7 separate regions of the Homo sapiens genome follow, and all the other regions are linked to region 1. The links are contacts of gene promoters, found by promoter capture Hi-C in blood cells and fetal thymus (Javierre and others, 2016). All regions are on one chromosome and are shown on one strand. Each heading gives the region's core, a stretch centred on a gene start or on the middle of the fragment in contact. The rest is flanking DNA. Distances are from core to core; before and after follow the strand shown. Region 1 holds the start of C11orf71 (chromosome 11 open reading frame 71). Region 2 overlaps ZW10 (zw10 kinetochore protein). Region 3 holds the start of CLDN25 (claudin 25). Region 4 overlaps USP28 (ubiquitin specific peptidase 28). Region 5 overlaps USP28 (ubiquitin specific peptidase 28). Region 6 overlaps USP28 (ubiquitin specific peptidase 28). Region 7 overlaps USP28 (ubiquitin specific peptidase 28).

The links. Contacts are between HindIII fragments. The CHiCAGO score rates a contact against its expected background, and 5 or more counts as called.
Region 2: a fragment that was not itself captured here is called in contact with the fragment with the promoter of C11orf71 in region 1 in 7 of 17 cell types (activated CD4 T cells, naive CD4 T cells, naive CD8 T cells and 4 more); the score reaches 6.6 in activated CD4 T cells.
Region 3: a contact is called between the fragment with the promoter of CLDN25 here and the fragment with the promoter of C11orf71 in region 1, in 10 of 17 cell types (total B cells, naive CD8 T cells, total CD4 T cells and 7 more). The highest score is 19.3, in total B cells.
Region 4: a fragment that was not itself captured here is called in contact with the fragment with the promoter of C11orf71 in region 1 in 6 of 17 cell types (total B cells, naive B cells, total CD4 T cells and 3 more); the score reaches 10.1 in total B cells.
Region 5: a fragment that was not itself captured here is called in contact with the fragment with the promoter of C11orf71 in region 1 in 3 of 17 cell types (activated CD4 T cells, naive B cells and fetal thymus); the score reaches 6.3 in activated CD4 T cells.
Region 6: a contact is called between a fragment that was not itself captured here and the fragment with the promoter of C11orf71 in region 1, in 2 of 17 cell types (total B cells and total CD8 T cells). The highest score is 7.0, in total B cells.
Region 7: a contact is called between a fragment that was not itself captured here and the fragment with the promoter of C11orf71 in region 1, in 10 of 17 cell types (total CD4 T cells, non-activated CD4 T cells, monocytes and 7 more). The highest score is 12.8, in total CD4 T cells.

What each region holds. Positions count from the first base shown.
Region 1 is chr11:114,398,965-114,403,216 of GRCh38, reverse strand. C11orf71 (chromosome 11 open reading frame 71) reads left to right here and starts at 2,706. Exons shown (of 1, transcript NM_001271562.2): 1 at 2,706-4,252. The coding sequence starts at 2,886. The coding sequence ends at 3,257. It overlaps RBM7 (RNA binding motif protein 7), which reads right to left and starts at 2,551. Exons shown (of 5, transcript NM_001286045.2): 1 at 2,450-2,551; 2 at 1,357-1,519; 3 at 302-389. The coding sequence starts at 2,545. RefSeq lists enhancers at 2,379-2,921, 2,819-3,208, 2,922-3,464. The HindIII fragment of the contact is 8,162 bases long and covers 1-4,252 here.
Region 2 is chr11:113,758,084-113,762,335 of GRCh38, reverse strand. ZW10 (zw10 kinetochore protein) reads left to right here. Exons shown (of 16, transcript NM_004724.4): 3 at 1,418-1,519; 4 at 1,746-1,823; 5 at 1,968-2,127; 6 at 3,630-3,782. Among named protein-coding and RNA genes, the nearest start is that of ZW10, 13 kb to the left of the region's middle. The HindIII fragment of the contact is 2,430 bases long and covers 1,342-3,771 here.
Region 3 is chr11:113,777,715-113,781,966 of GRCh38, reverse strand. CLDN25 (claudin 25) reads right to left here and starts at 2,171. Exons shown (of 1, transcript NM_001101389.1): 1 at 1,482-2,171. The coding sequence starts at 2,171. The coding sequence ends at 1,482. The HindIII fragment of the contact is 9,706 bases long and covers 1-4,252 here.
Region 4 is chr11:113,796,920-113,801,171 of GRCh38, reverse strand. USP28 (ubiquitin specific peptidase 28) reads left to right here. Exons shown (of 26, transcript NM_001346252.4): 26 at 1,757-3,297. The coding sequence ends at 1,932. Among named protein-coding and RNA genes, the nearest start is that of CLDN25, 19 kb to the right of the region's middle. The HindIII fragment of the contact is 2,228 bases long and covers 1,278-3,505 here.
Region 5 is chr11:113,813,138-113,817,389 of GRCh38, reverse strand. USP28 (ubiquitin specific peptidase 28) reads left to right here. Exons shown (of 26, transcript NM_001346252.4): 14 at 2,008-2,216; 15 at 3,435-3,505. Among named protein-coding and RNA genes, the nearest start is that of CLDN25, 35 kb to the right of the region's middle. The HindIII fragment of the contact is 2,019 bases long and covers 1,246-3,264 here.
Region 6 is chr11:113,850,224-113,854,475 of GRCh38, reverse strand. USP28 (ubiquitin specific peptidase 28) reads left to right here. Exons shown (of 26, transcript NM_001346252.4): 2 at 141-218; 3 at 1,843-1,975. Among named protein-coding and RNA genes, the nearest start is that of USP28, 23 kb to the left of the region's middle. RefSeq lists enhancers at 2,653-3,192, 3,193-3,733, 3,734-4,252. The HindIII fragment of the contact is 4,668 bases long and covers 1-4,142 here.
Region 7 is chr11:113,868,354-113,872,605 of GRCh38, reverse strand. The region is part of intron 1 of USP28 (ubiquitin specific peptidase 28); the gene reads left to right. Among named protein-coding and RNA genes, the nearest start is that of USP28, 5.1 kb to the left of the region's middle. The HindIII fragment of the contact is 5,153 bases long and covers 1-4,252 here.

The DNA of each region.
Region 1 (4,252 bases), core at 1,457-3,956:
TTTGTTTCAAGTGTATACATGTACTGTACACATATGTGGGTATGGTTATGTCGCTACAAATCAACAAATAGTTATATACGTATCTATTCTAAGGGGACTATATACAATGTGTTTGTCTATAGAATAGACACATTCTATACCCCTTAGAATAGATACATAACAACAACCCCAAAAGGCAAGTAATAACGGCAGAATGAAGAGATAAGAGAATAATGAAGGAGACTATTTACTCATGTGTTTTGAGGCTATTCCCTATAAGAATTCCTGATAAATGATCTTAACAATAAGTGAGAAATATTACCTGCTAGGAGATGTGGAGGTAGGGCTTGAATTTCCAACATGATGTTGGGGATATGACAAACTGACATCTTGTGGGGCATGACTACTTCCTAAAATGAAACAATTTGAAAAATTATTCTTGATAGAAAATCTAATTTGAAATTTTGTCTTCCCCACTTGAAATCACTCCAAAAAGGTAAACACAATCTAAAAGAGAAAAATCTCAAACTACTGGCCGGGCGCGGTGGCTGACGCCTGTAATCCCAGCACTTTGGGAGGCTGACGTGGGCACATCTCTCGAGGCCAGGAGTTCGAGACCAGCCTGACCAACATGGTGAAACCCCACCTCTACTAAAAATACAAAGAATTAGCCAGGCGTGGTGGCGTGCACCTGTAATCCCAGCTACTCAGGAGGCTAAGGCAGGAGAATCACTTGAACCTGGGAGGCAGAGGTTGCAGTGAGCTGAAATTGCACCACTGCACTCCAGCCTAGGCAACAGGGCAAGACTCCATCTCAAAAAAAAAAAAAAAAAAAAAAAAAAAAAAAAAAAAAAAGAATCTCAAGCTGCTGTAGACCGCTTTACGGCTTCATCGGGGTGAAAATTATAAGTGTATAATATCAGATAAGCAAAACAAAGCACTCCATAAATATCCAATCTGACCATAATTTTCTGATCTCCACCCTAAATTGTAACACTGGATACATGGACAGTTTCATCCTCACATGATCAAGAACCAAAATATATAAAAGTAATTACAAAGCAGCCAGGAGAAGTATTTTCAGAAAATAAACCTAGCTCTTTTCAGAGTACCCAAGCCCAGCTCTCTTAGTGATACAGTTTATGTTTTTTCACTAACCCAAAATGAAACTTTAAGCTCAGTTTTGAAATTCTAATTTCAAAATCCATGTGTCAATGTTACCCGTTTTCAGGGATATATAAAGTTTGCTATATAAAGTTTACTATTCACAATGCTTAAGAAAGAAGTTTCATCTACAAATAAGAGGTTCTTTAAAACTGAATAATAAATTTAAAAACAGCAGGAAACAATGCCCCCCGAACCTCATTGGGCAGTTACCTGATCTAAATTGAATTTTGATAGGCCTTCCATAAAGTTTGATTCCATTAAGTAGATTCATTGCATAAGGAACAGACACTTCATGTTTGAAATTCACAAACGCAAACTGCTTTGGTTTACCATCCTTATCTTTTGGAATTTTCACCTTTATTACTGGCCCAGCCTACAAACAAAAAGGTGTTTAGAATTTAAATAAAGCAACTAAGGGAAAATACTCAAATTTTACAAATAAGATATGACAAAGTTTAAAAACAACAGAAACGTAATCAGAAACTTCTTTTGAAAATGATGCACGGATTTCCATTTTGGCTACAGTAAACATCCTAGTTATGACTGAACATTAGATTTATTTGGGGAAGGGGGCCCATAAGGAACTGGAAACACAATCACTTTTGCAATTCACAGCACTGTATGGCTTAACATAGTGACCAATCGCCATTATTTTGCCACTCCATGAAAATGAACATTTATCAAGAACAAGAGAATGATTTTCTTTAACTAAAAACGGACTTTTGTATTGATTAATCAAACAATACCAGTTATTAGGGGATAGGGATGGGGGGAATAGGATACTCAGAATTTTTCACACTTTTTAATACAGCAACACTAAAATGCTGTTTTTCTACGGAGTACTTAACCATTTTATTTTACATATTTTAATAATGCTGCAATTTGATAAGCAAACTTTAGGGGAAAACAGACACAAATAAATTAAAATATTAAGTTCCCAGTCAGATAAACCAAAGACAAATTATCCTAAGGGGAAGATGACAACAGGAAGGATAAGAAAAAGCACTGCTCAACGAAGACCCTACACACACACTGTGTTCCCAAGGACCCCTGGATCTCTACCACGGGAAACCTGATCGAGGATCCCTCCACCACCTTTAGTCGTCACTTTCGGCCTAAACGAACCAAGATCTTCCAGGAAAGCGACACCCAGCGAGCGTTTCGCAACCCAGACCCGCCTTTCACCCCCAAACAGCCACCCGTCGGGTCCCCTGACGGCTACGAAAAGAAAACGGGGTGGCCGCTGGCCAGGCCCTAGGCGAGACGGAAAACGAAAGGCAAAGGGCCGAACCCAGCCGCTTACCTGGTGGAAAAGCTCGAAAAGGAGCTCCTCGGTCACTTTCGTTTCAAGGTTGCCCACAAAGAGAGTGCGATCCGCTTCCGCCGCCGCCGCCCCCATCTCAGCGTCGCCCCCTCCCTAACCTGGCCAAAAGGTCGTGGCCGACGCACCCACTGCGCATTCACGGAAGCCCCACGTCCTCACGCTCCCTGGCGTCACAAACGAAAACGCCCGTTGCGCTTGCTCTCAGCGGGCGACGACGTGCGCGGACGGTCTGCGCATGCTCGCCAGGATACCCCTCGTTAAAGGCAAGGCGGCTTCTGGCTCTTCCGCAGGCTCAGTTATGGGTTCCTGTGTGCTTAGTCATCGGGTCCGACACAGGCTGGACTGATCTGGGGAGCCGCGAAGGGCCTGCCTTCACAAAGGGACGTAACGCAAGTACTGCGGGCAGTGTTTGAATATGGCCCTGAACAATGTGTCCCTGTCCTCCGGTGATCAGAGGAGCAGGGTGGCCTACCGCTCTTCCCATGGCGACCTCAGACCGCGGGCGTCAGCGTTGGCGATGGTCTCCGGAGACGGCTTCCTCGTTTCCAGGCCTGAAGCGATTCATCTAGGACCTCGGCAGGCGGTGCGACCAAGCGTTCGGGCCGAGAGCCGTCGAGTGGATGGTGGCGGCCGGAGCCCAAGGGAACCAGATGGCCGGGGCCGGAGCCGCCAAGCCAGATTCTCACCTTACCCAATCCCTGCCGTTGAACCCGATCTCCTAAGAAGTGTGCTGCAACAGCGTTTGATTGCATTAGGAGGTGTTATCGCAGCTCGAATTTCAGTTTAAACGAACACCTTTCCTCTGGCCCTCACTTAGCTTGTGAACAGGCCTTTTTAAAATCCTTTCTTGGTGTAGCAGCAATCGTGTTGTTTTATTTTTAGATGGATGTATTTTCATTTAATACGTGGGAGTTATATGAATATGTCCTAGCACTAAGGGAAGTGTAACAGTTGATTGATTTAGGTGGTTTTATGCAGCCAGAACGATTGGATCAGGAAAGGTGTGGAAGGGATATTCTTAGGTCGTCACAAAGCTGAGCTGATGGGAGCACCCTCCCCAGAGGTCAACAATCCATTCGTTAACTCAGACACTTAACCTTTACCTTTACTTCTGTTGGCGAAAAAGAAGTGCTCCTTTTTATTACACTGATTTATCCTTCCATCTTTTCCTTGGCATTTACCATCTTCCATCTCCCCCTTCACTTTTTTCAGATATGTCTACAAACAGACTCCAATCTCAGTCGCACTAAAAATAAGAACAAAACCTAAACCTTACAGTTCTTTCAAATTATTAAATCAATTTATTATTCCTTTCTTTGGCAAAGGTTCCAAATTTTTACTTTATATTTGTAATTTTACTATTTGCATTCAGTCCCAGCGCATTAATCTGAATCTGCTGTCCTAAAATACACTGGTGAAAACATTACTTGTACAATCTCCTATCAGAAAACTGTTCATCTACTCACTGTAGTGCCCTCCTTGAAATGTGTGTTTGTTCATTCAACTAACAATATTTGGGGATCCCTGTAGTAAACACTGTATGAATTTTACACAGTCTGGCCATCAAGAAAGATCACGGAGTATATTCTAGATGGGGAGGCTACTAAGTGAATAGGAATCACCACGCTGGGCTGTTTATTAGGTACAGTAATAAACATAAGTACTGGTTGCAGTGACTTTTTTTTTTTTTTTTTCATCATAATACTGCACTATCCTGGTTCTTCTCTTACCTGGCTGATCACTCCTTATTTGCTGTTATTTTTGTTCTCTTAACCATACATT
Region 2 (4,252 bases), core at 1,307-3,806, 640 kb after region 1:
CTAGTCCTGCAACTTACATTCATGGTAAGTGCCCTATACAGGTGTACCATTTTTATGCTGTATTTTTACTGTATGTTTTCTGTGTTTAGATACACAAATATTTACCATTGTGTAAATGGTACAGTAACATGCTGTATGGGTTTATAGCCTAAGAGCAATAGTTTTATATAGCCTAGGTACATAGTAGGACATACCATTTGGGTTCCTGTAAGTACACTCTGTGATGTTTGCATGACATCAAAATCACCTAACTGCATTTCTTAGAATGCGTCCCCATTGTTAGTGACACACGACTGTACTAGTAATATTTGCTTTGGATTTAGCAACAAGGAGTTTAGTGTTTTTGTTTGTTTGTTTGTTTGTTTTTTGGCAAGAACAGTTAGGAACCAGATCACAGTGAGGTATAGAGTGAATGAGAGTTGAGAATGTAAAGACAATGGATATAGATCACTATTTCAGGAAGCTGTTTGTGAGAGGGAGGAGAAAAATAAAACAGTTACTGAGCAATAGGGTGGTTGGTAAGGGGGAGGGATTTTTTTCTGAAAGATGGGAGAAATTTTAACATACTTAAATTTGATGGGATAAGCCATGCACTTATAGGCATTCAGTCAATATATATTTCACAAATGAATGAAGATAAATTAGGGAGAGGTTAATTGGAGATTTTAGGAGAGAGGGAATAATTGATCATGTAAAGTCATTGATAAGGTGGGACAGAATGAGAGGTAGATTCTGCCTCAATATTAAATCTTTCTGACAGGGTGCCATGGCTCATGCCTACAATCTCAGCACTTTGGGAGGCCAAGGTGGGCAGATCGCTTGAGTCCAGGAGTTCAAGACCAGCCTGGACAACATGGCAGAACTCCATCTCTATCAAAAAATACAAAAATTAGACAGGTGTGGTGGTGCGTGCCTGTAGTTCTGGCTACTCAGCAGGGCTAAGGTGGGAGGATTGCTTGATTCTAGGGAAGTTGAGGCTGCAGTGAGCTGAGATTGCACCACTGCGCTTCAGCCTGGGCAACAGAGTGAGACCCTGTTTCAATTAAAAAAAAGAAATTCCTAATAGAGGTGTCTGACTCTAGAATGAGTTATCACTTGGCAGTGGGGATACCTTTCTAGTAATCCAGGTGGGTGAGCTCTCTGATGAAAGATACCTGCTTAAATTAAGAATAGATGGTGACATGAGGATATTATGTTGAGAGGAATGGGTATTCTTGCAATAGGATAAGGGTTTGGACTAGTTGGACCTCTAAGGTATCTTCCTACTACATTCTGTGATTTTTATTCCAGTCTTAACTAGCATTTAAATTTCAACATAAATTATGTTGACCTAGTAAAGCTTATTGATTTGCTTTAAATTTTTTATTTCTTAGGTATGGTATAGCTTAAAAGTACTTGTTTTTGATGTGTGAATTAGGTCCGCCGGGATCTTCACGTATCAACCGGTGAATTTACAGACTTAAAGCAGCAGTTGGAAAGAGACTCAGTTGTCCTAAGTTTGCTTAAACAGTTGCAGGAGGTCAGTAAACTCAACTTGAACCTTAGTGTTTTGGTGGTGGGAAGGTCTCATTAGTCAATGGCTATCTCCTGACTATAATGGGTTTTTTTGTCTTCATATTTTTTTTTCTTTCTTTTTTTTTTTTTAGAGGGGGGAGGGGGAGGGAAAGTGGGAGCATTTCTTAATGTTTAAAAGCAAACAGACTTGAAATAATAGGATGTATAAAATATTATACTTAACTTTTCAGTTTTCCACTGCTATTGAAGAATATAATTGTGCATTAACAGAGAAGAAGTATGTCACTGGTGCTCAGCGTCTGGAAGAGGTACTAAATGCTCTCCCCAAAGCATGCGCAATAAGTGCTCTTCTTGTTTTCAGTAAATTTTGTATTTTTTATCATTATGCAAATATATTCTAATTGCCCTGAGTCCAGATGGAATGTTTAACAGTGATTCCATTTCGTTACCAGGCACAGAAATGCTTGAAGTTATTAAAATCCAGAAAATGCTTTGATTTAAAAATATTGAAATCTCTCAGCATGGAGCTCACAATACAGAAACAGAACATACTTTATCACCTTGGAGAAGAGTGGCAGAAGCTGATTGTATGGAAGTTCCCACCATCAAAAGGTGCTGCTGACCTCAGGTGGACTGCTTTGCTTCATCTGCCTGAACCAGTGTAGTGTCTGAATATATTCTACATTTTTGTATTAGTAGATGAGGGTTCATTCATAATCTTCCATGTCTGTATTGAGCACTCATGTTAGCAAGATGCTTTCTTAGGACCAACTCATCTGGGTCCCTAAAGTGCCCTCACCTTGCTTCCCTTACATCCCTCTTAGCTGTCCTGTTCCCTAGAAATGTGAGAAAAGATGCTAGGGTAGTTGGGATCATGTGGTGAGAGTGTGCTAGAGGAGATGATAGCAATTTGCGACCACATTAAGTTTCCATTGCCTTGTAGGACGTGCCCGTTCCTGACAGCCCTAATCCTAGCAGTTTATCTTGGCTAGAAAGTGTAAAGGAGCTCTCTAGCCATTCTCTCTCTTGCTTAGGAAAGAAGATGGATCAGTAGGCTTGTGGGTAGAGGAGGGGTCTTGCTCAATTTCTTTCCAGTCCTTGGGGAAAATAATGAGCTAGGGAGTGCTTTGCAAGGTGAAGAAATAGGATTACTTCTGCCCTGGCTTTGATTTATGCTACTTGGCTGTCAGCCTTTCTGCCTACCTCTGGGTATGAGCCCTCTTTGGTGTGTTGTTTGCCCTGAGAGTAAAACTTCAGAGGCTGTATTTAAAGGACATGCTATTGTACCTGGTGTATTTTCCAACACTGGATTTTGAAATTTAGTGTATTTCAAGAGAAACTTTCTCCCCCTGTTCCCTTTCCTATATCCACTTTGGCCTACAAATTCATTATATACATATGTGTGTACATAGACACATATGTGCATATGTGTATGTGTGTCAGGTATTTGAAGGGAGTTATCCTGAAAATTTTAGATTCTGTTCTCAAGTAGAATATTAGTTAAGAGAAGAGGGCAGGTGTGTTGAATTATTTGTTATAACACACCCTACTTGTTAAACTTGTTTGGCAGAAAGAACATAGAAAGGAAGGTCTGTGAAACTAGGACCTCATTTTTCTTTTTTTTTGAAACAGGGTCTCGCTCTGTCGCCCAGGCTGGAGTGCAGTAGCTCAATCATAGTTCACTGCAGTCTCAAACTCCCAGGCTGAAGCGATCCTTCTGCCTCAGCCCCAACTACTTCTCCCACCCTGCCCCCAGTAGCTGTGACCACAGGTGCGTGCTACCACGCCTGACCAATTTTTAAATTTTTTGTTAGAGACAGCGTCTCACTACGTTGCCCAGGCTGGTCTTGAACTCCTGGGCTCAAGTGATCCTCCCGCCTCGACCTCCCAAAGTGCTGGGATTACAGACATGAGCCCCTGCACCTGACCTCAAAAAGTCATTTCCTTTTTTAAAGTGATGCCAAGGACATGTATGTCATAATTCATATTTGGTTGCATTAGGAGTATATTGTAATAGAACTGCATTGGAAATATCAGAGAATGAGCTCTGAGGAATAGAAGTGGGAACATCTCATATTGGTGAGACAGCTGATATTTTTCTTCCTTTTTCTTAGATACCAGCAGTTTGGAATCTTACCTACAAACTGAACTTCATTTATACACTGAACAATCGCACAAAGAGGAGAAGACCCCTATGCCACCCATCAGTTCTGTCCTCTTGGCATTTTCTGTTCTTGGAGAACTACACAGCAAGCTTAAATCATTTGGTAAGGCATGCTACTTTGTTTCATTTACACAAAATCTCCTGAGGCCCAGTATTAAAGGGAAGACAGAAAAGATGATAAAATATTCTCTGCAGAGTATTAGTATAGGGTCTGGCCTCTTGATTCATCAAAGAGAATTGTCCTAAATATTATCCCTTTTATTAAGGGATTGGGTTTTTTTTTTTTCAACTGTTCCTATTTTTTTTTTTGGTTTTTGAATAATTTAAATAAAAATCTGTAGACAATCTGGGAAACTTCAGTGGTAAAACCTGCACCGCATAATGGTTGGTGTGTAATGTCATGGTATATGTATTTTGGTTGTTAGGTTCAAAGATTCATATTTTTTTTTTGACATGCTTACTTTTTAGAAGTGTTTTTTTTTGAGATGGAGTTTTCGCTTTTGTCGCCCAGGCTGGAGTGCAATGGCATGATCTCAGCTTACTGCAACCTCTGCCTCCTGGGTTCAGGCAGTT
Region 3 (4,252 bases), core at 922-3,421, 620 kb after region 1:
GTCCCTGGTACTGTGAGGAATGCAGCACGCCTCTGAACCTGGAGAAGTGACCTACTTAGGGCATTAGGAGCCATCCCCTTTAGCTGCTCTCCTGAGGGAATTGTTGGCAGGGCCAATGGTGATTCTTGAACTGATTACAGGAGTGGAGGACAGGTGGCAGGGAGAGGAACAAGGTGGATGCTGCAGGATAATTGCAGCTGACAAACAGGTTTATGAGCAACAGGAGGCTCCTCCTTGAGGACCTGCAGAAATGCCAGAGGAAGACCTGAGGTGGGGTAGTCAGGAGAGAGCCTGCCATTGCAGGCAGAGCAAGCAAAGGAACTTAGGTTATCGTTATGGAAGGGACTTGATTTGTAGCCACAACCTGGGTAGGTCTGCTGACACTCAGGTTAAAATTTAAGAGGAGGCCAGAAGTTTGATAACAGCCTGGGCAATATAGCGAGACCCCATTTCTACAAAATATTTTAAAAATTAGCTGAGCTTGGTGGCTCATGCCTGTAGTCCCAGCTACTCAGGAGGCTGAGGCAGGAGGATCCCTTGAGCCTAATAAGAGTTTGAGGCTGCAGTGAGCTATGATCATGCAACTGCACTCCAGGCTGGGCAACAGAGTGAGACCCTGTCTCAAAAACAAAAACAAACAAACAAAAAAACACAGCAAAACAAAATTCAAGGAGTTTATACTGTGATTTTGCACTTGGTAAAAGACATTTCTGAGAAGCTACTTCTTTCATATACATGACCACATTGGGCAGTATTTGGACACAGTCATTCTAAGGTAATCACTGGGTCCCAGTTTGCTTGGGACTTTCCTAGTTTTAGCACCAAAAGTACCTTGTTCTGGGCAAACCAGGAGGGTTGGTCACCCTACCACTCACTCAGACTGACTGTTAACCTTCAGGTGGGGAAGACAGAGTAGACTGCTCATCGCCTCACAATGTAGCAGAAACAAGCCTATGTCTCTCCTTTGGGATATTAAGGATCTATAAAACAGCAAAGGTATATTGTGAAGTTGTCTTTCAAATGGTACACCTGAGGCTGAAAATGGACACAAAGAGAATTTCTGTCCTAAGATGCTGTTCTGGAACAATAATTCATTTTCCTTTGCCAAGGTACCTTCTTCAAGTTTTATTTTTGTAACCTATTCAGAACAGTAAGTGCCTCTTCACACTAGATTTTCTCTGATGGTTGCAATTTTGTAATATATTTTTCCTTAGTAATAAAAGAATCAAATATGTAATTAAGGTTATGAGTTTTTTAAAGCATTTTTATCTAAATAAAATCTCAAATCAGAAAAATACATTTGTTAGACACTGTGCCCTGATTTTTTATTCTGAAATGAGGACTACCATATCATCAAGACAATCACATCCTTGATAAGTGGGACAGTGACCACCAGCCCCAAAATGAAGCAAACAAACCTAGAGTGAGAAAGGAGTCTACAGACATTCCTTTATTCCAGAGATCCTTGGCAGAAGCCAGTCCTAGATGACCAGGTTCCTAGGTCTTAGCATGAGGTGGAAGGAGCCATCTGACTCCTCCACTGGAGCACAGGATAGGGGGACTGTGGGACCAGCCATCAAAGGAAAAGGCACATCTTCTTTTCCCAGGCAGGCCGAGAAGATGAGGAGTAGCCCACCAAGAGCCAGGAAAATACCAGCAGCCCAGCCCAAGTAGAGGGCACCTCCAAACTCCCACCGAGGTATGATGTCAGGGATGCTGTCATCCCAGAAGTCTTGGATTGTGGCATGGGCCACCCAGGAGACTGGAAGGAGGGTAGTGGCTGAAGCGGATGCCTCCAAAGTCCTTCCCAGGAGACCAAGCCGCCTCTTGAATACCCATCTGATCCTGTGAAACTGGAAGCATTCAGACCCAAAGCTGCAGAGCAAAAGCCCCAATAGGCCCAGCCCATGGGAGGCTACCATGAGGATGCGGGCTACCTGGAGCTCCTGGGGCAGAGACAAGAAGGATTCAAAGGCCTTGCACACAGTGGCGACTTCCTCTCGATCCACGCAGACCTCCCAAATCCCCATGATCCAGGTCTCCATCTCGTTCAGTTCCAGATTAAGAGTCTTCCACTGGGGCAGGATGGTGGTAACACAGGAGCAGACCCAGCCAAGGAGGGAGAGAAGTAGCCCCCCGAGCTGGACTTTTGCACGGAAACTCCAGGCCATAGTCACTCCCACCACAGATGCAGAAAGAAAAGGAGCACGAGTGGGTCAGTGACTGGTTAGCAGGGACTACTTTTCAGGAGGCTTGAGTGGAAGATCTTTCACATTGGGAGAGGGCTCTTGTTTCAGTATTCTGAGCAGCAGCTGAGGCAGGTGCCAGGAATTGGCAATGTTTGGGTTTAGAGGGTGTGTCCAATATCGGATGTGGGTGTGAAATCTGGGGGAGGGTCCCATGACCAGCAAAAAAGCCATACAGGGAGCCATCAATACATATTTGATGAATAAATTCATAAACTAAAATCACTCCTCAGCTCTGAGATCACAAGAATGATTGATGTTCTGGAAATATACGTTGATATAATCTTTTTGAAGGGCAACATGACTTTATGTTTCATGCTTTTAAACATATGCATACTTTGACCCAGCACCTTATCTCCAGGAATCTACCTAATGTATCATGAATACGTACAAAGATTTATGAAAATGTCCATTGAAATATTGTTAAGAATTGTCAGTTTTTGTTAATACTTGGCAGCCATTTTAAAGTGATTTTGTAGAAAGAATTTTAATGATTTGAAAAATATTTTTGATATATTGTTAAGTGAGAAAAGCAAGTGACCAAACAGTACATGGAATATATAGAATGCAGCCGGGCACGGTGGCTCATGCCTGTAATCCCAGCACTTTGGGAGGCTGAGGTGGGTGGATTACTTGAGGCCAGGAGTTCGAGGCCAGCCTGGGCAACATGGCGAAACCTCACCTCTACTAAGAAAGTGAAAAAAATTAGCCGGGCATGGTGACACACGCCTGTAGTCCAAGCTGCTTAGGAGGCTGAGGCAGGAGAATCTCTTGAACCTGGGAGGCGGAGGTTGCAGTTAGCCGAGATCATGCCACTACACTCCAGCCTGGGTGACAGAGTGAGACCCCATCTCAGAAAAAAGAAAAAGCCAAAGAATATATAGAAATATGTGCGTGTGTGTGTGCGTGTGTGTGTGCGTGTGTGTGTGTATATGTGTAGACCACAAAATGTTAACATGATTATTTTGGTGATAAAATTATGCATAGTTTTTATTTCCTTATTTGTGCTTACCTATGCATTTTACGCATTTTACACATTTTATAAATTTATCACTTAATATTTTTATTACAAAAAGCCCACAAATATTAATTTTACAAAATAATTTTAAATTCCTCAATCCAAGGAACCTACCCAGACACAGAATATCCCCAGAGGGAGGTGCTCCCTCCCCAGGCTCCCCTTGCTGCTGGGACAGCAGCTATAAATAGATGGTAATCATACCAGCTTCCATTCCTGTTTGTTGCTGCTGCCAAGTAGCAGGTTCTGACAGGAAAGGAAATAATTTGCATTTACTGAGTACGGCTAAATGCCAGACTTTTGGCTAGACACTTTATCCGTATTTAATTTTCACACTGCCACTGTGTGATACATGTTACGTAACTTGCCAAGGTCCCCCAGCTGGTAAACAACAGATCCAACACGAACCAGGCAGCTCAGACTCGGACATTTGATGTTCTTGTCCCCAGGCTGCAGCAGCTGCCCCTGCACACTGGTGACACATCATGTGGGTGAGGCTTAGTCTTTATAGCGAGACAGAGAAGAAAACGGACTTATTCTGTTGGAGTCATGAATGTCTGACTCATGTGTTTCCCTATTCACAAATTAACCTGCTCCACACTGTGGTAGATATGAAGTGAAAGCAAAGGTGTTCCTGAAAGGAAGATGAAGGGGTGGCCTGCCCCTCCACACCTGTGGGTATTTCTAGTCGGGTGGGACAAGAGACTGAGAAAAGAAATAAGACACAGAGACAAAGTGTATAGAAACAACAGTGGGCCCAGGGGACCGGCGTTCAACATACCAAGGACCTGCACCGGCACCGGTCTCTGAGTTCCCTCAGTTTTTATTGATTATTATCTTCATTATTTCAGTAAAAAGGAATGTAGTAGGAGGGCAGGGTGATAGTAAGGAGAAAAACACGTGAACAATAGAATCTACGTCATAATTAAGTTCAAGGGAAGGTACTATGACTGGACGTGCAGGTAAGCCAGATTTATGTTTCTCTCCA
Region 4 (4,252 bases), core at 1,142-3,641, 600 kb after region 1:
CTCTTTTATAGTTTAAAAATCAAAATCTGACTGGGTGCAGTGGCTCACACCTGTAATCCCAGCACTTTCAGAGGCCGAGGTGGGCAGATCACCTGAGGCCAGGAGTTCAAGACCAAGTCTGGCCAACAAGGCGAAACCCCATCTCTACTAAAAATACAAAAATTAGCTAGGTGTGGTCATGGGCGCCTGTAATCCCAGCTACTCGGGAGGCTGAGGCAGGAGAATCACTTGAACCTGGGCAGCGGAGTTTGCAATGAGCCGAGATAGCACCAGTGCAATCCAGCCTGGGCCACGGAATGAGACTCCATATCCAAAAAAAAAAAAAAAAAATCATGCAGAGTATGGTTATGGGAGGGGTGCCTTGATGAATTTTTTCTGTGGCTTGAAGTTATATAGCATATTAACTATGATGACTTCAAGATTAATTAGTGGACTGTCCTTGCTTGTTTAAAGCATCTTAAGGAGGGAATGTAAAGCTGGTTGTTTTTAGGTGAGTTCAGTAGACTTGGAAAATTGTTATATATTCTGATATGAATCCTCTTTGTTAGGTTCTCACTGACATAGAGATACTCTATTGATGGGGCTAGGCACAGTGGCTGACACTTGTAGTCCCAGCACTTTGGGAGGCCAAGGTGGGTGGCTCACTTGAGCCCAGGAGTTTGAGACCAGCCTGGGCAACATAGTGAGACCCTGCCTCTACAAAAAATGAAAACTTAGCTGGGTATAGTGTAGTTCTAGCTACTCAGGAGCCTGAGGTGAGAGGATTGCTTGAGTCTGGGAGGCCGAGGCTACAGTGACCCAAGATCATACCACTGCACTCCAGCTTGGAGTGAGACCCTATCTTTAAAAAACAAACAAAACAAAAAAGGCCGGGCGCAGTGGCTCACGCCTGTAGTCCCAGCGCTTTGGGAGGCTGAGGTGGGCGGATCACGAGGTCAGGAGATGGAGACCATCCTGGCTCACATGGTGAAACCCCGTCTCTACTAAAAATACAAAAAATTAGCCGGGTGTGGTGGCGGGCACCTGTAGTCCCAGCTACTTGGGAGGCTGAGGCAGGAGAATGGCGTGAACCCGGGAGGCGGAGCTTGCAGTGAGCAAAGATGGCGCCACTGCACTCCAGCCTGGGCGACAGAGTGAGACTCCGTCTCAAAAAAAAAAAAAGATATTCCATTGACTTGTTCAAGTGTTTAAGTTGATAGTATTTATTTAAAAATCCTGTAATAGCTAGTTGCCATGTGTTTCCCTTTACTGTCTTCAGTTTTTATTTAGACCAAGCTTGTCCAACCTGAAGCCCAACACAAATTTCTAAACTTTCTTAAAACATTATGAATTTTTTTTTAACCTCATCAGCTATTGTTAGTGAGGTTCATGTGTGGCCCAGGGAAGCCAAAAGACTGTACACCCCTGATTTAAAACCATGTGTATACACTGATATATTGTAAACATTTGAAAGAAAATAATTACCATCATATCTATGCTAGAGTATCATATCTACTTCCTTGTATTTTAAGAAGACAATTGGTTAGAAGACCCTTTCGTAATAAAGTAATTATATAGTTGTTATATAGCAGTGAGCTAAAGTTTGGTTTATTTGCCTTTGCTCCTGGTTTGGCCTGAAGGAATAATCATTTATTAGTAACTGGCCAGCATAATGCTTTGACCTTTGAGGTTAGGTAAGGGGCTAATAGAAGGCTTGTTCACTTTTACTCAGAAATCTGTTTAGCTGTATATGTAACCATCTGTTTTCCCTCCACAGAAAATCTGCAGCTGTGCCTAGGGGAGTTTCTACCCAGACTTCTAGATCCTTCTGCAGAAATCATCGTCTTGAAAGAGCCTCCAACTATTCGACCCAATTCTCCCTATGACCTATGTAGCCGATTTGCAGCTGTCATGGAGTCAATTCAGGGAGTTTCAACTGTGACAGTGAAATAAGCTCCCACATGTTCAAGGCCCATTCTGGTTCCTGGCTGCCTGCCTCTTGCACAGAAGTTCGTTGTCATAGTGCTCACCTTGGGAAAAGGATTAGGTGGGCACATAAGATTCCGATCAGACCCCAACCATGCTGCATGTGTAAAGAAGGATTGAAAATAAAATTGCACTTTTTAGGTACAAAATCATAAAAGCTGTTTCACTAGAAAAGGCAGAAAGCAGTGTATTAAGGTGTTGAATTACGCCAGAAGACCTGAAATGCCTTGTACCTACAACAATGCTTAGGCTTTTCTAAGCCTCTTGCCACTTTTAAAATTATCCTTCAGGCATAAATATTTTTGACAGCAGAATAGAAGAATGATTCATGAGAACCTGAACCAGATGAACAGCTACTAGTTATTTTATCAAATACAGATGACATTTAAAAATTCTTAACTACAAGAGATTAGAAATATAAACCTTGCCTGGCTCTTGCCAGGAGATAACAAAATGGGTTGCTGATGAACTGCACCCTTTTACATGTGGGTAGAATATAAGCTCACATGGCAGTGAGATGTTGAAAAGTCAAAAGAGACCTGTCTCTCTCCTTTCTTTTCTATCTTTAAACCAGAAAACCTCATACTCAGTCCTCAGTGAAAGAAAGTAAAGTATTAAGGACTTTAGACAGAAGAGCATTGTGTAACTTGACTGAAGATCATCCATTAATAGTTATTAGGCATTTAGGTAAAATTTTCTAATACCTAAAAATTGTCAAAAACAGTCAATAGGGCTACTGCTGGCCCAAAGACCATTTAGGTCCACCTCCTCTTTTTTGCTCTTTTTTTTTTTCTGTGACAGTTTCACTGTGTCGCCCAGGCTGGCGTTCAGTGGTGCAATCTCAGCTCACTGCAAACTCTGTCTCCTGGGCTCAAGTGATTCTCGTGCCTCAGCCTCCCGAATAGCTGGAATTACGGGCATGCACCACCACACCTGGCTAATTTTTGTATTTTTAATAGAGATGGGGTTTCACCATATTGGCCAGGCTGATCTCTAACTCCTGGCCTCAAGTGATCTATCTGCCTCCCTCAGCCTCCCAAAGTCTGGGATTGCAGACAAGTCATCGTACCCGGCCTTCTTTTTTGCCCTTAAAAGTAAGGGATGTGGGTTTGTACAAAAAAAAAAAAAAAAAAAAAAAAACCAGCATACATATGCAAAACTATATATATATGTATATGTAGAGAAAAATACTTCCCATTGATCATTTTTAAAAGGCTTCTGATTGGATATTGTGTTTTAACCAAATTTTAAAGATTAATGGAATCATGAAAGGGAAAAAAATTGATACAACTATGCAGATTTTATAAATGTGCAATAAAAGTATTTGTTTTACCTTTGGTGTGCAGTATGGTCTTTATTTAAATATATATTTTCCATTTGGGAAATGGACATACTTGGTATTTGTCTTGTTCCAATTTTTCTTCTTTAAAACCAAAAAGCAGATTAGAGGGTTGATAAACTGGATGGGGACTGACGCGCCAGTGTTTGAAATAAAAGGCAACAGTCAATTATTGAGCAGCACCTAGTGGTAACTGAAGCTTTTTAATCTCATTGGCTATTTGCATTGCATGTAAGCTTATCTACTTTGTCAAATTTTTGAATGCAAAAACAGCAATTTTCTTAGAATGGAGTTTCTTATGTAGTCATTCCTCAGCAGACACCGGCAATTGCTGGGACCCCTGCATATACCAAAATCCATGCATACTCAAATTCTGTAGTTGGCTTTGCAGAACCCACATATAGGAAAAGTTGACCCTCCATACACTTGGGTTTTCACATGCTGTGAATACTCTATTTTCAATCTGCATTTGGTTGAAAAAAATCCTCATGGGACTCATGCAGTTCAAACCTGTGTTTTTCAAGGGTCAAAATGTATTTTGATTAATGGTAGGCCATGCTTTACAGATATTCAGAGGTGCTTTAGTGTTTTAAAACTCATCGCAAAGATTGTTTCATGGGAAGTTGATCAATTTTCTTACTGATTACCCTTTACAGTTTAACATCCTGTGTGCCACCATTTGCCTTTCACTTTTTAATCCCTGTCAATATTGAGTCTTGTGTGCAGTGCTTCAGTTATATTATTTTAACCCTGGGATGACGATAGGGACCATGATTTATCCAAGGTCGTAGATCTTGTAAGTGGTAGAACTAGGACACTAATCCTTGGTGTGTCTGACTTCATAGCCTGTGCTTTTAATAGATGTTCAACTGTCCTTGGTAATCGTGTGAAATATTTTGTTTTGTGTCTCCTTAACAGTAGTTATTTCCTGATCAGCTATTGGGAATC
Region 5 (4,252 bases), core at 1,006-3,505, 590 kb after region 1:
TTTGAACTACAAGCCAGCTGCCATTAAAGGCCTTTCTCAGAGGAAACCTCAAGCCCTGCTCTTCCAAAACATCTCATGCTCACACACTTGAAGTATGCATGACTAAGAAACATCAAGGAAAGAGAGACTTATTCTTGAATAGAAAATTAGTACTTGAAAAAGAACTGGCTAGAAATAAGAGGACAGCTTAGAGGGGCTTCTCTAGTAAAGGCAGAGGGAGGCAAAGTCACAGGAGCCCTCTGATTTTATTCCATCCAGTCATGTGCAACAATCTTTATTGCCTAGAGGAGCCATGAAAGGTAGCTAGGACATTTGATATGTGTTACCTGGCTAATAAAAACACTAATACTCAATAAAAAGTTAGACTTTTTTGTCAAAAAATCTTAACTATTCTCCCCAACACATCCCCCGCCACCGCCCCACGTATTAATATTTATTCATCCATGTATGCATAGAAATGCTTATTTGGATAGAACATACCAAATGTCAAGAATGATTATCTCTAAGGAGTGACATGAGTCTGGGGATAGGAGTGGGGCTGCTCTTTCACTTTTTATATTCTACTTAAATTTTTTAATTTTTGTAAAAATAGAATCTTTTTATGTATATTATGAAATGTAAAGTTTTAATTTTTAAAAAGTGGTTCGGCAGGCTATTTAATCAAATAAAATAATAGTGCTTGGTATTAGATTTAAAAATTACAGGGAGGTGTATGTGTGTAATCTCCTCTGAAATTGAGATATCTGTTCCCTTGTTGGGCTTATTTTTCCATAAGTATGGACCTTAGGGAAAAGAGATTTCCTCCATTATTTTGTGCATGTGAGAGAGTGAGGAGGAGGGAGTGAGGTTTTTTTGTTTGTTTGTTTGTTTGTTTTTTTGAGATGGAGTCTCACTCTGTCGCCAGGCTGGAGTACAGTGGCATGATCTCAGCTCACTGCAACCTCCGCCTTCTGGGTTCAAGCGATTCTCCTGCCTCAGCCTCCCAAGTAGCTGGGACTACAGGCGTGCCACCATGCCCAGCTGAGTTTTGTATTTTTAGTAGAGATGGGGTTTCACCATGTTGGCCAGGGTGGTCTCGATCTCTTGACCTGGTAATTTGCCCTCCTTAGCCTCCCAAAGTGCTGGGATTACAGGCGTGAGCCACCGTACCCGGCAGGAGTGAGAGTTTTTTTTTAAGTCAAAGTAAAGGAAGTTTATATTCTTCAGCTTTGGTGTAAAAGAGAAACCTAACTACAATTAGAAGCTTATTTTATATTCCTGCTGGTTTGTTGACCTGCAGTTTTACTCTGACAATAGAGAAATTAACATTTACTTGATATGCTTTATTCTCTGTTAGTTTACAGAAAAGACGTAAAGAACTTAAGATTTATATTTTGTAGATGAGATATTAATACTTTTTTCCTTGGGTATTTAGCTAAAGTAGTAGAGCTAGGATTGTTTGACTTGAAGCCCTTCTCTCAGAACTCTCCAAGGTGTCACCTAGTGTGTATTCCTGTGAGTTGTATGTTCAGCTGATGCTTCCTTTTTCTTCCTTCTGTGTATTTTGTTCCAGGAAGGATAGTGTCACTTTAGTTGGCTTCATCTTGTAAACTCTGTAGTTGATTCCTTGATTCTTCCAGGCCTAGTCTTCTCTTTTCCATTTTCCTTCTCTTCCCATCCTCATGGGAAGGAATAATCAGTGATCAGAGAACATGAGCTAAAGACTGGCCGATCTGGCTTTGGATTCATTTTCATTACCTTCCAGCTTGGTGAACTTGGGCATGTTGCTTAATTTATTTAAACCTTAGGCTCACAGTTGGTAAAATAGGGATAGAAAAGTATCTACCTCACAGGCCAGTTGTGGTACGTGAGATGATAGAGAAAAAGGTTGGCTCTGTACCTTTATAGAGTTAATGCTCACTGAATACCTGTACTTTTTCATATAGCATCTTGCTTTCCAAAGTACATAATTTAGGCCAAGGTATCTTTTGGAAATTATCATATGAGCATGATTTTTGTCTTCCTCAGTACAAGTACAGAAAGCTCTTCTCAGGATGTTGAAAGTACCTTTTCTTCTCCTGAAGATTCTTTACCCAAGTCTAAACCACTGACATCTTCTCGGTCTTCCATGGAAATGCCTTCACAGCCAGCTCCACGAACAGTCACAGATGAGGAGATAAATTTTGTTAAGACCTGTCTTCAGAGATGGAGGAGTGAGATTGAACAAGATATACAAGGTTGGCTCTTTTAAAATTTGTCAGTTACTCTTTGCTTTTTCTGTTTTTTGACTATTTGGAGGTTAAGCACCTCGGTACACTTCCTGACATTACTGTACATGCTACAGAATTTCCCCCCCGCCGAGATGGAGTCTCACTCTATCACCCAGGCTGGAGTGCAGTGGTGCAATCTCAGCTCACTGAAACCTCCGCCTTCCGGGTTCAGGCGATTTTCATGGCTCAGCCTCCCAAGTAGCTGGGATTATAGGCATGTACCACCACACCTGGCTGATTTTTTTTTTTTTTTTAGTAGAGATGGGGTTTCACCATGTTGGTCAGGCTGGTCTTAAACTCCTGACCAAAACTGATCTGCCTGCCTTGGCCTCCCAAAGTGCTGGGATTATAGGTGTGAGCCACTACGTCTGGCCCATGCTTTTGAATTTTGACATGGTAATTGTGACTTCTTTTGCACTTTTAGTGCCCTGTAAACTTGGCTCACACACCCCCATTATACAGATATGGAAAGATCTCCCCCTCAAAATTTCTGGGAAATGATCACCTTTGCTGAGATTTTTCTGCATCAACTGATTTCTGTTTCTGTGGTAGATTATCTGAACTCCAGCTTAAGTTGACCCAGATTTAGCATTTAGCTTTTCTGGACTTCTACTCTTCAGTCTTTTCTATAGGAAGCATGCTTTACTGAAGGTTAATGAGGTATTTGAGCAGTATGCACAATGTAAAATTGGATTATTCAGCATTGTATTCTTAAAAAGCCCTTTGACCTCATTGCCCATATTGCTCAGACTAACCTTACCCCCCTTCCTGTCTCCTTTTGTCTAGGGAACAAAAAGATGATGGAAAATACAGATTCTTCCCAGATTCCTATTCAGAGAAATTTAGCCTTACCCTTTGTTCTGCTTTCTCATTTCAGATCCTGTCTGAGGCATACATTTTACAGCCAAGTGACCCATTAAGATCTTTTCCTAAACAGCTTACTCTTTAAGAAATTTTGGCAATTATAAAAAATAATGTTTTAAAACCTTAATGTAATTATATTGAACTAAAAGCTTTCATAACCTAAAGTACTAGCTGCTTTAAAACTGTATATTGCTTCGTGGTTCATAGAGGGAAGCTGAAATCATTAGGACCCTAGCAATATTCTTTGCTTAGTTAAAGTAGCCTGTGTGACATAGAATGAGATCATTTTAGTGAAGCTTTTGTTTTTCTTTTTCCAAACAGATTTAAAGACTTGTATTGCAAGTACTACTCAGACTATTGAACAGATGTACTGCGATCCTCTCCTTCGTCAGGTAGAATGAAAATTGATGGGAAAGTAGTCAAGGCATGTGCTAATGGTAGATACAAAAATCAAATTTGATAGTTTTCTTTTAAACCCAATGGGAATCCCCCTAAGATAAAAGAATAAACTTAAGATATAAATTGATGTTGTTCTGTTTCTTTATTTTAGGCTAAAGAAAGCAATATACCTTTTACCAAAAACAGGACCTAACACATACTTGTTTGAATTCTGCCACATGGAATTTTTTCATATTGTAGAAAGGTTTGCTGTCAGATACTAATAAAAATTACTTACAAAATGGTACTTTAAGTAGTGCAGTGGGAAAAACTGAACTAGAGAACAGTTATCCTTTCTTTCCCAAAGTTCCATGATTCTTCAAGATCTTTAATTTAACAACATGCGTTCAAGCTTTATTTCTGTAATAATAAATTCCAAAAGAGAGTTAGGACAGAAATTCTTAACTATCCACAGAAGTGTTTGTTAGAATAAATTCTGGGAATGGAGGGGTAAAGAGCCTCCAGGAGTGTCTCTGAACCTATTCTGGTTAGGGGCATGGACTTTCAGTGGCTTCTGTATGAATGACTGGAATGGGCAGAATGGCTTGGAGGAGGGGAGCCCTGTTTCTAGAATGGCATTGAGGCACAGTCCCATTGCTTAACAGGAATGCACCATGTAAAACGCAGGCTTCCCCATTTTTTCTTTTGTGTTAATTCAAAAATCTTCACCAGTAATTAAAATAGGTCAAAGTAAGTGTAAA
Region 6 (4,252 bases), core at 559-3,058, 550 kb after region 1:
GAGCCGAGATCCGGCCACTGCACTCCAGCCTGGGCAAGCCTCAGGCCTGTTTATCCAAGATGCTTTTAGTTATTCTTTAAATGTACCCAGGTTTACTTTCTGACTGACATGTTTGTGGTTTTTTTGTTTTGCAAATATAGAGCTGCCAAATGCTGTTAAATCAACTGAGAGAAATCACAGGCATTCAGGACCCTTCCTTTCTCCATGAAGCTCTGAAGGTTGGTTTCCAGATCTCTGTTAGTCAGGAGGCTTTAAAGCAGCTGTCTATATTATAGTTATGTCAGTTCAAGCTATTTCTATTCCCAAATTAAAGCACATATAGGGACAGAAGCTCTACAGGTCAAATGACTGACCCAATGTCTTCAACATGTAAATTATAAGGGGCTGGGGGAGATTTGTGGTTCGGGTAACCCTGCAGGGTATAAAAGAGATTTAAGAAACATCAACCAGTTGCACTGTTTAGGCCTTATATTTCCTGATCCAAACCAGCAAACTAAATAATATTTGAGTCAGGGAAGTTTGAACTGGTTATCTGATATTGAAAAAACCTGTTGTTATTCTTAAGGTATGTATATATATATACTTTTTTTTTTTTTTGAGATGGAGTCTCACTCTGATGCCCAGGCTGGAGTGCAGTAGCACAATCTTGGCTCACTGCAGCCTCTCCCTCCCGCATTCAAGCTGTTCTCCCACCTCAGTCAGCCTCCCAAGTAGCTGGGATTACAGGCATGCGCCACCACACCTGGCTAATTTTTGTATTTTTAGTAGAGACGGGGTTTCACCATATTGGCCAGGCTGGTCTTGAACTCCTGACCTCAAGTGATCCACCCGACCTGGCCTCCCACAGTGTTGGGATTACAGGCATGAGCCACCACGCCGGGCCATGGGTTATATTTTTAAAAGATATGTTCTGAAATGTTGACCAGTGATAAGATGGTTAGGGTTTGATTCAGAATATCTACGAGAGTATAGGAGGTTTAGAGAAAATAAGAAAGGTTATGACTAAGTGACTAGGTAATTGTTGAAGATGAGTGATAGGTACATGGGGTTCTGTTATTCCCTTTCCTGGTATATATGTTAGAAATGTTTCCTCATAAAACATTAAAAACAAGAATGATCACCACTAGAAAACAGGTAACTGCGTGGCTTTTTTTTTTTTTTTTTTTTTTTTTTTGAGACAGGAGACAGGATCTCACTCAGTTGCCTTGCCTGCAGTGCAGTGGTGTGATCTCGGCTCACTGCAGCCTCTGCCCTCTGCCTCCTGGGCTCAAGCGATCCTCCCACCTCAGCCTCCCTAGTAGCTGGGACTCACGCCTGGCTAGTTTTTGTATTTTTGGTAGGGATGGGGTTTTGCCAAGTTGCTCAAGCTGGTCTCCAATTCCTGGGCTCAAGCGATCTGCCCGCCTTGGCCTCCCAGTGTGCTGGGATTACAGGCGTGTGAGCCACTGCGCCTGCCCTGCTTGGCATTTTTATTGTAGGGCTGACTTCATTTAGAATGTCTATGTTAATTGCCAGCCCCCTTTTTTGACACATCGTGCTTTAGACTGTTCAGAGAAATCATGAGTAGTAGTATCCGAAGCAATGGGAACAAATCTCCATCAAGATTTCACTTTTGTTTGGGTGTTGTGGGAAGTCAGAGCATGGAAACTCCCTCCTGTAATGAGGCATTTAATAGACGCTTCAAGCACATTAGACCTACTGTCCACCATAGTCTCATAATTCTACCCTAGAATTATGCCTGAAAGTACTCAGTGTGTCACCAGGGTAATAAAGTTAATACTCAAAACTGGTTTTAAATTCTATGATTACTTTTGAAATTTCTATTGTCTTTTTCTCCCATAGGCCAGTAATGGTGACATTACTCAGGCAGTCAGCCTTCTCACTGATGAGAGAGTTAAGGAGCCCAGTCAAGACACTGTTGCTACAGAACCATCTGAAGTAGAGGGGAGTGCTGCCAACAAGGAAGTATTAGCAAGTAGGTACCATATATCCTGTCTTGGTCCTTTGCTGAACTAGCAGAAAATAACAAACCAAGTATATGTGAGTTCCCTGTCAATCACATCAGCCCTTTGAAAATAATAGTAATAACAGCTTATTACTGAGCTATTGCTATGTGGCAGGCACAATTCTAAGCACGTAAAAAGTTCTGGCCGGGTGCAGTGGCTCATGCCTGTAATCCCAGCACTTTGGGAGGCCGAGGCAGGCGGATTACGAGGTCAGGAGATCGAGACCATCCTGGCTAACACGGTGAAACCCCGTCTCTACTAAAAATACAAAAAATTAGCTGGGTGTGGTGGTGGGCACCTGTAGTCCCAGCTGCTCGGGAGGCTGAGGCAGGAGAATGGCATGAACCCGGGAGGCAGAGCTTGCAGTGAACTGAGATCGCACCACTGCTCTCCAGCCTGGGCGACAGAGCAAGACTCCGTCTCTTAAAAAGAAAAAAAAAGTTTCATTTGTTCATTTACTCATTGTTTAGCATTTATTTAGTGAGGACCAACTATGTGCCAAGCACTCTTGAAGCCCTGCCTGCATTTAGCTTGTTTTTTAGTGGGAGAAGATCAACAAGTAAATAAATTATTAATATATTAGAATGTGATAAATACCATGGAGAAAAAGGACAGAAGAAAGAAATGAAAAAAAGAGTGCTGGGGACTGTATTTCCAATTGGATGGACTTTTTTTTTTTTTTTTTGAGATGGAGTCTCACTCTGTCATCCAGGCTAGAGTGCAATAGCGCGATCTGCGCTCACCGCAACCTCTGCCTCTGGGGTTCAAGCCTCAACCTCCTGAGTAGCTGGGATTACAGGCGCCCACCACTACGCCTGGCTAATTGTTTGTATTTTTAGTAGAGACGGGGTTTTACCATGTTGGCCAGCTGGTCTTGAACTCCTGACCTCAGGTGATCCACCCGCCTCAGCCTCCCAGAGTGCTAGGATTACAGGTGTGAGCCACTGCTCCTGGCTGGGATGGACTTTTAAGAATGTGCAGGGGAGGTGAGGGAGTAAGTCATTTGAGGCCCTAAGATGGGAGTGCACCTTGGCTTGCTCAGGGAACAGCAAGGAGGCCAGGGCTAAGGCTTAGTGAGTGAGGAGGGCCGAAAGGGATGGGGCCATGGAAAGAGAAGGAGGTGGATCATTCAGAACCTTCCTAAGTACTAGCTTTTGCTGTGAGTTAGGTGGGTAGCCTTTGAAGAGTTTGGAGCAAAGGAATGATATAAACTGATTTCCATTTTCCATCACTCTGACTGTGGTGTTGAGAACAGAATGTGGGGGAGGAGGTAGTGACAAGCATGGGTCAGATTAGGGAACCCAGGCCAGGCTGCTGTGGTGGAGGGTAAGCAGTGCTGGCATTCCGGCATATATTATTTTTAAGGTAAAGGCAGTAGGATTTACTTACTGAGGAGGTAGGGTTGTGTGAGAGAGAGAGGAGTTAAAGGTGACTCAAAAATTTTTTTCCTAAGCAACTGAAGCATTTAACCAAGATGGGAATCACTGTAGGTGGAGCAGATTTGAGATGGTAGATGAAGAGATCAGTTTGGGGAATACTAAATTTGAAATGCCTGTTAGACATTCACGGCAGAAGTGTCAGAAAGATGGTGGAGACCCAGGTGCACAGTTCAGAGGAGAGGTCCAGGCTGGAGGTAGGTGGACTTGGAATCGTAACCTATAAAGGCTCTGTAAAGCTGTGAGACTGAGGAGCTCTCCAAGGGAGTGGGTATAGGGGAAAGAAAAGGTTCTGCAGCTTAAGCACTGGTTGCTGCCTATGTTCAGAGGTCTGGGGAGGTGAAGAGTGCCCACGGAAAGCCAGGAGAATGGGACTCTGGAAGCCACGGAGGCTTCTGGGAGGAGAGACCAAGGAGAACCTTCTGGAACCTTCTGGGAGGAAGGCGAGGTGGTGTTAATGGACATTTGGGCCGTTAACAGTTTTGAGCTATTCTGGATGATGCTGCTGTGAGTATTCTCATATGTTTCTCTTGGTACACACTGCAACTTTTTTCGGTCAACATTGTTCTTTTTGAGACTCACCCATGCTGAGGATTATAACTGTAGTTCATTCATTTTCACTGGTGTGTAGTATTCCATGGTCTGAATATATACCACATTGTATGTATTTGTTGATTGACTTTGGGGTTGTTTTCAAGCTTTTGCTATTCAAGCCTGCTGTGAGCTGTTCGGATTCATGCTGCTTGTCCTTGTATGCGAGAGTTTTTTTAGTGTATATATCTAGTGATGTAGTTGGTAGGTATTAAGATA
Region 7 (4,252 bases), core at 625-3,124, 530 kb after region 1:
ACCTTTCGTTTCCTTTTGTCTCATTAACTGATTTTTAAAACATCAGTAAGTCAGTGATTGGTTCCACAACTCTCATGCCCCTCTGCCCCCAAATGCAAACAGTATTTTTTTTTTTTTTTGAGACGGAGTCTCGCTCTGTTGCCCAGGCTGAAGTGCAGTGGCGCGATCTCTGCTCACTGCAAGCTCCGCCCCCCGGGTTCATGCCATTCTCCAGCCTCAGCCTCCTGAGTAGCTGGGACTACAGGTGCCCACCACCACGCCCGGCTGATGTTTCTGTATTTTTAGTAGAGACGGGGTTTCACAGTGTTCGCCAGGATGGTCTCGATCTCCTGACCTCATGATCCGCCCGCCTCGGTCTGCAAACAGTATTTTTAAGACTTACTGGCAAATAGCATCTTACCAGGCGAGATCTCTCCATGTGTTCTGTTTCATCAAAGAAATTAAATCAATAGTAAAATGAAGCAAGTACTTAACAAGGAAAATAATGCTGGTAATAGTAATAGCTAATGCTAATTGAGCATGCACTATGTGCCAGACTCGGTGCTCAGAACTTAACATAGCATTCTCTCAGTACTTACACAACTCCATGAAGTTTCTATGAGAAGGCTTATACTTGTTAAGTAATTCGTCCAAGGTCACCCAGTGAGGATATGGTACAGTTGGAATTGTATCTAGGCAGTTCTGACCCCAAGAGCCCAAGGCGCCCCTGGTCCTATCTCATAGTTGATGGGCCCATTGCCCTGGATCACAGACTTTCCACTACTCTTATAATGCCTTTTCTAGAACTCTCCTAATGTTTTAAACTTCCAGTCCTCCCTACAGTCTTTCTAAATAGATAATCTTCTTTTCTACTTGACTGAGCTCGCTGATGTCTAAAAAGAGCTCCCTGCCTTCTGTTTTGTCCCCCTCTCCCTACGCCATCTCATCTCTTTTCTCTTATTTCAGTGGAAAAGGTTCCCTTCCTTTTTCCCCCTTTCATTTCTTAGAGATAAACCTAGATTAATGGTTTTTACTAGGGAGAGATTTTGTAATCTAGGAAGCATTTGGCAATGTCTGGAGACTTTGATTGTGACTCTGGAGGGAGGATGCTACTGGAATGTAGTGCGTAGAAGCCGGGAATGCTGCTAAACATCCTGCAGTGTACAGGAGTAAGCCCCTCTAAACAGAGTTATGTGTAAATTGTATAAAATAGTGCTGAGCTTGACAAACTCTGATCTAGATGATGTCTCTCTTCTCTTTCTATTATGTCCCTTCTCCTTAGTCCTAGTCTAACCCCCAGACACCTTCACTGTCTTCTCCCTTGCTACTCACATTATGGTCCACAGACCAGCAGCATTCACATCCCCTAGGATTTAGACATGCAGAAAGTTGAGTGTGCTAGAGCCAGCTTGCTCTGCCTCTCCAGCTGATTTTGTACATCTCTTTCCAGCTCTGTGTTCAATGACCTCGTGTTGATAACTGTGCCAAGGTGGGAATATTTATACCAAGGAAACAAGCATACACTGCCAATCAGCATACCACTGCCTGTACCCCCACTCTAGACCTATTCAATCAGTTTCTGCCTTTTGACAAGATTCTTGGGTGATTCATTTGCATATTACATTTTGAATTTGCATTTTCCATTTTACCGTGCACTTGTCCTCTATCTTGAAACCAAATAACAACAACAAAAGTGTCTATTGCCCAGTCCAGCTGTTGTCTCCACCTTCCTCCTCTTGTTTGCTTTTGGAACAAAGTTTCTAACCCCACCTGTTTCATTTCTAAAACATTTTTCCAGTGACAATGTATTCAGACTCAATATACAAAACTTGGAAAAGACAGACTTGAGCAAGACTAACTCTTAGCTGACAGGAGATTGAGGAAGGTTGGTTCCCAGATTCTGCTACAGAGCTTAAGGTGGCAATAACAGCTTCTGCAAAAGCCAAATAATGAGATGGCCGTGTGGACCAGTCTGGGCTCCAGCAAATGGCTGATTGTTCAGAGGCCTGCAGAGGGACTGACTAGGCAGCAGCAGGTTAGGTTGAAAGGCAGTGAGTGGTTTTATGTAATCAGAATCTGCTCAGCAGCCTACTTTGCCAAGGCAGGATCTCTCCCTCTGTCACCCAGACTGGGGTGCAGCGATGTGATTATAGCTCACTTTGGCCTTGACCTCCTAGGCTCAAGCGATCCTCCCACCTCAGCCTCCTGAGTAGCTGGGACCACAGGCGTGCATCACCGCACTTGGCTGTTTTTTTAATTTTTTATAGAGACGAGGTCTTGCTATGTTGCCCAGGCTGGTCTTGAACTCCTGGGCTCAAGCAGTCCTCCTGCCTTGGCCTCCCAAAGTGTTGGGATTACAGGCATGAGCCACCACACCTGGCCCCCTCATACTTTTATTATTTTATGCTTTTATGATCCCTCATTACCACTTTTTTGCTGTTACTTTTTTCTTGTTTTGTTTTTTGAGACGGAGTTTCGCTCTTGTTGCCCAGGGTGGAGTGCATTGGCACGATCTTGGCTCACTGCATCCTCCGCCTCCTGGGTTCAAGTGATTCTCCTGCCTCAGCCTCCCGAGTGGCTGGGATTACAGGCATGCACCACCATGCCCAGCTAATTTTGTATTTTTAGTAGAGACAGGGTTTCTCCATGTTTGTCAGGTTGGTCTTGAACTCCTGACCCCAGGTGATCTGCCCACCTCAGCCTCCCAAAGTGCTGGGATTACAGGCGTGAACACCTGGCTCCAAATCTACATTTCTAATCCTGAGTTGCAAATGACTTCTATACTCTGTTTCCCAGTGCTTTTTGAACAGGTCTGCTTGAATATCAACCTCCTTGGCTATAAACGTTTGCTTCATACTTATTTTCCCAGGGTTGTTATACTAGGCATGGGAATGTACACTTGTATTACTCGTGTCTGCCATATGCTATGTACCACCCTAAGCACTTTTCCATACATTTTTATTTACAAAAACCCAGCAAGGTGTGAACTATTACCCTATTACTGATGAGGAAACTGAGATGTCTTGTTTGTTTTTTGAGATAGGGTTTCACTCTGTCACCCAAGCTGGAGTGTGGTGACACCGTCAAGGCTCACTGCAGCCTTGACCACCCAGACCCAAGCAATCCTCAGACACTTGAGTAGCTGGGACCACAGGTATGCACCACCACACCTGGCTACTTTTGTTTTATTTTATTTTTTGAGACGGACCGCAGTCTGTTGCCCAGGATGGAGTACAGTGGCGTGAGATCAGCTCACTGTAACCCCCGCCTTCCGGGTTCTATTGATTCTTCTGCCTCTGCCTCCCAAGTAGCTGGGATTACAGGCACATGCCACCACGCCTAATTTTTGTATTTTTAGTAGAGACGGGGTTTCACCATGTTGGCCAGGCTGGTCTTGAACACCTGACCTCCGGTGATCCGTCTGCCTTGGCCTCCCAAAGTGCTGGGATTATAGGCGTGAGCCACCGAACCCAGCCTGTGGTTAATTTTAAAAGTTTTTTTAGCAATGGGGTCTCTCTGTGTTGCCCAGGCTGGTCTCAAACTTATGAACCAAGTCATCCTGCCTCAGCCTCCAAAAGTGCTGGGATTACAGGCATGAGCCACCGTGCCTGACCTCAGATGTTAGTATGCCTTATAAGGGCCTCATATGAGATTTATTTTATTTATTCCTTTTCTTTCTTTTGTCTTTTTTTTTTTTTTTTGAGACATGGTCTTACTCTGTCACCTAGGCTGGAGTAGTGCAGTGGCTCTATCATGGCTCACTGCAGCCTCAACCTCCTGGGCCCAAGCAATTCTCCTACCTCAGCCTACAGAGTAGCTGGAACTACAGACATGTGCCACCATGCCTAGCTAATATTTTTAGTTTTTGTAGAGATGGGGGGTCTCTTTATGTTGCCCAGGCTGGTTTTGAACTCCCGCGCTCCAGTGATCCTCCCGCCTGAGCCTCCCAAAGTTTTGGGATTACAGGCGTGAACCATGGTACCTATCTCTTTTTTTCTTTATTCGTATGAGATTTTAAACTGAAGTCTGTTTGCTTCTATCTTACAGATGAGAAATGCAGCTTATGACCATGATTGAATTATAAGTAGCAGAGCTGTGACTTCAAGCCATTCTGACTTGAAGCATAACATTTCTCCGACTTTAGTACAAGCCTTTCTAAAACCAAAGTTTCTGACTTACCACTTGACTATGTAGCACTTTAATAATTTTAATAACTTTTCATTGAACCCTCATAGGCACTCTATGAAATAAAATTTAGTATGAGCAGGAAGTA